Regions from separate parts of the Homo sapiens genome. Here region 1 is linked to region 2. The links are contacts of gene promoters, found by promoter capture Hi-C in human tissues and cell types (Jung and others, 2019). All regions are on one chromosome and are shown on one strand. The core of a region is centred on a gene start or on the middle of the fragment in contact, and the rest is flanking DNA. Distances in the headings are between cores, read along the strand shown. Region 1 overlaps PSMB2 (proteasome 20S subunit beta 2). Region 2 holds the start of TFAP2E (transcription factor AP-2 epsilon).

What was found. The method cuts DNA at HindIII sites, captures the fragments that hold promoters and counts their contacts. A contact is called where the count stands out against the background at its distance.
Region 1: a fragment that was not itself captured here is called in contact with the fragment with the promoter of TFAP2E in region 2 in 6 of the 25 tissues and cell types used here (H1 embryonic stem cells, heart right ventricle, liver and 3 more).

Annotation. Positions count from the first base shown.
Region 1 is chr1:35,626,782-35,629,481 of GRCh38, reverse strand. The region is part of intron 3 of PSMB2 (proteasome 20S subunit beta 2); the gene reads left to right. Among named protein-coding and RNA genes, the nearest start is that of PSMB2, 13 kb to the left of the region's middle. The HindIII fragment of the contact is 9,137 bases long and covers 1-2,700 here.
Region 2 is chr1:35,571,990-35,574,689 of GRCh38, reverse strand. It overlaps TFAP2E (transcription factor AP-2 epsilon), which reads right to left and starts at 1,376. Exons shown (of 7, transcript NM_178548.4): 1 at 1,086-1,376; 2 at 281-763. The coding sequence starts at 1,112. TFAP2E-AS1 (TFAP2E antisense RNA 1) reads left to right here. Exons shown (of 3, transcript NR_183387.1): 2 at 1-330. RefSeq lists enhancers at 1-671, 913-1,412. The HindIII fragment of the contact is 7,667 bases long and covers 1-2,700 here.

The DNA of each region.
Region 1 (2,700 bases), core at 134-2,633, 55 kb before region 2:
AGCATTGTTCCTCCTTACTTATTCTAGCCTTGTTGCTATTCTAGAGCTGTCTCCATTTCATCGACAGCATGTTAAAAGATGCAACACTAAGTTAAGGATTGAATGCATTAAAGATTGTGTAGGATGTGCTAGGAAAGTTCATATGGTTGCTAAAGGTGTGTGTTATTCCCTTCCCACAGGGACTAAATAAATAGAGCCTTACCACGTGATCTCACCCCCTGTGCCTGTTTACTTATCTATGAAATGGAGATAACTTCCTAACCCCACAGGGGTGCCAGGAAAATGAATGCTTGTAAATCATAATATTTAACATTCATGTGACTTTTGCCCAAAGCATTTTGCTTAATAATTTAATCTACTCACTATTCCACTGAGAAAGATAGTCTCTATCACTGAGATGAAGTGAAAGGCATAAAGTGTCAAAGGGACTAGCTCCAGGTCACACAGCAGGTCAGACAAAGCTAAAATAATGGTGCCATAATTATTTGACTATTCTGCCTTTGGTTCTTCAGTAGTGTTTCTAGAACACTGATGCTATTCATATTTTTATTATGGTTTGAGTTTTCATCTGTACTTGCTTAAAATAACAAGTTACTTTTTTTAAAGTTACTTACTACAGATCTATAAAGCAGTTTATTTTCTAGTGCCTAATAATCTTTGACTGATAATTTCTCAATAAATAGTACCTCTCAGTGCTAGCTTTGACCAAGGGCTTGTACAATCTGAGGGATCATGAAGTTTGAAGAGAAGCTAGAGACATGTAGGATTGAGAGGAGGAGGCAAATTTACATACATTGTTTTGTCCTGGGTGAAAGATCAGTAGTCTTTTCTTTAAAAAAAAAAAAAAAAATATATATATATATATATATATATATATATATATATTTTTTTTTTTTTTTTTTTCTTCCAAGAAAGTCATTGTCACCAAGTGGTCTTTTCTTCACTCCTCCTTGAGAAAGGAAAATGGGTCAGATATTAGTTTTTCTGTCACCCAGAAGTTCCTGTGGTGTTCAGCATTTTATGACTTGCCATGTACGATGTTCCTCTGACTTATCAGGCAGAACCGGAGTAAGAATTCCAGCTTTGGGCACAATAAATACTGTGTCATAAATATCACAGACATTAAGTGAATTAAGCTCCTTTTTGGAATTGAGATAAGAATGGCAGTGTGCTTCATGCAAATGCAGTGAATCTGGTTTAATCTTCTCCTAGCAGAAATGTTTGATGTCTTAACAAATATCCCTTGTAGACAGTGACATGGGGCTCTGGTAAATATTGACTACCTCTGCCTGAGCTTTTCCAGTAGGTCCAATCTCTGCTCCCCCATCTCCTTATCAAAATAGATTCTTAGTTCTAAAATATGAATTTATATTTTAGTCGTCTTATTCTGGGAAGAGAGATGATAGTTTGTCAGTGTTCCTAATAAGTGCAAAGTCACCAAATTTAGTATATTTATATGGTCACACCAGTTGGCAGATGTGACTCATTTTGGGTCAGCCAGTTACCATGTATAACTTCTGTGTCTGTAGCTCAAATTGTTTGATTTCTAATTTGCTCTGTGTATGTGTGGTGGTTTGGTTGGGAGGACATTTACTACCACTGAGTATATAATGAATCTTACATAAACTGGTTCATTAAAATGTAGGCAATTTAGCATTGTGGTTAAGAGCATAGTCTCTGGAATTGGACTACCTGGGTTTGAATATTTGCTTACTGACTTACTAGCTGGATGTCTTTGGACAAATTCTAAGCTTAATTTCCCTACTTACCAATTTCAAAAAGTTATTATGAAGATTAAATAAGGTAATAATGCAAAGCTCTTACTTTTTTTTTGAGACAGGATCTCACTCTGTCATCTAGGCTGGAGTGCAGTGGTATGACCACAGCTCTCTGCAGCCCCTTGACCTTTCAGGCCCAGATGATCCTTCCACCTCAGCCTCCCTGGCAGCTGGGACTGTAGGTGCATACCACTATGCCTGGCTAATTTTTTGTAGAGATGGGGTTTCTCCATGTTGCCAGGCTGGTCCCGAACTCCTGGGCTCAAGCAATCCTCCCGCTTCTGCTTCCCAAAGTGCTAGGATTACAGGCATGAGCCACCATGCCCAGCCCACTTGTGTTTTTATGCTGCGATTGCTGTTTGGTCAAAGAAGCAATTTAATGGCTATAAGTTAGTTTTTCGTGAGGGATCATTTGTTGTGCTTTTTTTTTTTTTTTTTTTTTTTTGAGATAGGGTCTCGCTCTGTCACCTAAGAGGTGGCACAGTCACAGCTCACTGCAGCCTCAACCTCCCGGGCTCAAACAATACTCCCACTTCAGCCTCCCAAATAGCTGGAACTACAGGCGCCAAGCCACCATGCTGGTATTGATAGGGAAAATAGAAGTAAAATAACATTGAACATATATTATGTGCTAGGATTTTTCTAGATCTACACAGTCCAGTATGGTAGCCAACTAGCCACATGGGGCTATTTAAATTTAAGTTAATTAAAATTAAATAAAACTTAAAATTCAGTTTCTGGTGGAAAATCTCCTGGTAGACTTTGCCTGAATGCTAAATCAACTTTTGTTCTTAAAAAAAAAAATTCTGTTCCTCAGTCACAGCCACATTTCAGGTACCCAATAGCCACAACTATTGTATTAGACATCACAGATCTGGAACATATCCATCATCATAGAAGTTCTCTTGGACAGTGCTATTCT
Region 2 (2,700 bases), core at 127-2,626:
GCCCCATGGATGCCACACGTGGCAGCGGGGAGAAAAGAAGTGATTCGGTCCCTGCCGAGGGTTGCTGCCACCCACGCACTGCTGGCGGACTCAGTGCCAGGCAGCCTTGATGGCCAGGCAACGTCTAACCCAGGAGGTGGGACACATCCTCGGAGTCACCAGTGAGATGTGGCGAGCTGGGAGAAAAGTCGGCTTCCTGCATTTGTCACCTTCTGCCTCCAGCCATGGTAGTAAACCACCGCGGCCAGTCCCGACCCATCCCGGATCCCTCGGGTCTCACCTGCAGGTCCTCCAGACCGGGGGCCGCCGCCAGCCCCGGAAGGCCGAGAGGTGCGTCTGCCAGGCCGTGCGCGCCGTCGGCCAGGCCGTGCAGGAGCCGGGGCACGGCAGTGGCATAGTCACGGCGCGGGTCAAGGCCCAGGGCGCGGGCGGGCGGTGCCAGCAGGCCGGGAGGCTCCTCGTGGGCGCGGGCGGCTGCGCGGGGCGCGGCCCAGGCGGCCTGAGGAGGCTGCGGCTGCGCCAGGGGCGCCAGGCCGCCATATGGGTCCCCTGCCAGGTGGGGAAAGGCTGCGGCGGCGTCGGGCGCCTGACCGTAGGGCAGCGGTGGCTGCGGGTAGGGCGGCGGGAAGTAGGGCGGCTGGAATTCGGCGGCAGCTGTGGCGGCCGGCGTGTGGCAGAGCGGGGGCGCCGGCCCGTAGGCCGCCTGGGGCAGAGACGACAGGCGGGCCCCGCCGGCAGCTGCTCCCAGCCCGTCGGGGCGCTCCTGGGGAAGGAGAGGGGTGCCTTAGGTGACCCACTGGCAGCTGAAAGGACCCCAGCCTGAAAGGATCCTCCTCAGCTCGGGAGGGTTCAGCTGCAGTCCCTCCCGTTTCTTGGGGCCCGAGGTTTATTTCCGAGCCACCCGCGGGCGCAGGAGCCTCAGGCTGGGGACAGCGGTCACTTGCGCATCGCGTTCTCAGCTGGCGAAGTCCCTGCGGCCCCCTCCCTCCGAGATTTCGTTAGCGCGGGACAGGAGGGTTGGAAAGTCCAGCACTCAGGCGCCCCGATCCCCCGGCCGAATATGTCCCGGGCCCGAGACTACTCACCATGGCGGAGTAGGTGTGCACCAGCATGGGGCGGTGAGTGCCGGGCGCGAGGCGTGGCGGCGGCGGAGCCCTAGCCCGACGGCGAGCGCTGCGGGCAGAGGCGCCGGGAGCCGGCACAGCCCGCGGAGGTCACGGTGCGGTAGCTGGGTGCGACCCAGCCGGGATCCTAGTGGGCGTGGGGTCCTCAGCGGTGGCCGTTCCCGGGCGGGTCCATGGAGGCAGGACGGACGGGCACTGATCGCACTTGGAAAAGTCGGTCAACGGGTGCCCAGCGCCCGCCCTTCCTCCTCTGAGCGTAGCCTGCTCCATGCACTCCAGTTATAGTGGCGGGGGCGCGCCGGGCCTCCGGGGGCGCGCATTAAAGAGACAAGCTATGGCAGTTCTCTCCCTTTTCCCCAGCGGCTGCCACAGGGGAGGCAGTGGCTTTGGCGGGATCGGGTAGGGTGGGTAGGGGGCGTGAATTCAGCCCACATTGATCAGAGCCGCCTTCTGGGCTCGCAGCTCGCAGCTGCAGTGAAACAGAAATATTCGAGGCTGGGACGCAAGGGCCCTACATTTGCCTGGCTCTATCACATCCTTGCCTTTAAGCAAAGCACTATTCTTCGCTGGCCTCAGCTTCCTCGGTAAAATAGGTATCAATCCTTTCTCTAAGCACCTCAAGAGACTTTGGATGAGGTGGGTAATCGGGAACGTGGAAGAAGTTTGTGAGCTGAAGACTCCAGCCTATCTGCTCATGCGCACACAGTGTCAGTGCGTGTGTTTAGGGGGTCTACCATCACAGTCTTTCCTGAATGGTTCTGGATCAAAATCCCTCGAAGGTGCCCACTTCGCTCTCAGGCTTCCTGGGCTGAAAACTTCCAAGCCAAGCCAGGCTCTGAGGGAGTTGGAGACAGAAGCTGGCCAGACAGAGAGAGAGACTTGCCTGGGATGGGTTTGGGTATGAGCTCCACCTGACAAGGGGCCAAGATATTTCTGAAGCCACAGGGTCCTGGGCTGATTGAGTGTGGGCATGAGATACCCAGAGACTGTTGAGTGACTGTGTGTAACTGACTAGCATGGATGCCGTGTGATTGTTACACTAACATGCGCAGGCTACATGTTCCTGTGTTACCATGGCAGGCACTCCCTGGCTGTCAAGCAAGTTCCAGTCTCTGTAGTCACTCTCTCTTTCTCCCCAAACCCAACCCTCCCCTCCTGACAAGCAGAGACAGGGATTAAAGATGGACAAATGAGAGGAATGCTAAGGAGAACAGGAATTAAGAAAGCAGAAGAAAGATGTTTTTTAAAAGCAAGATGTGCAGACCAGGGCAAAGTAGAAATAATCACAGCAGACTTATTACAGAATGTGCCAGCCTCTGTGCAAAGTGCTTCACGAATATTGGGTTCTTTAACCCTCACAGCAGCTCTATGAAAGAGATACCCATATCATCCCCATTTTCAGGGGAGGGGTGAGGCATGGAGAGGTTAAATGGCTTGCCCAAGGTCAAGCAGCTAAGTGGCAGAGCTGGGGTGATCTGCCCCTGGCCCCTCTCTGCTCAGAATCACTATTCTCTACTGCCTCAGACTCAGGGGCTTGGATTTAGTCCTGACTCTGCCTAACTGTGTGATCCTAGCT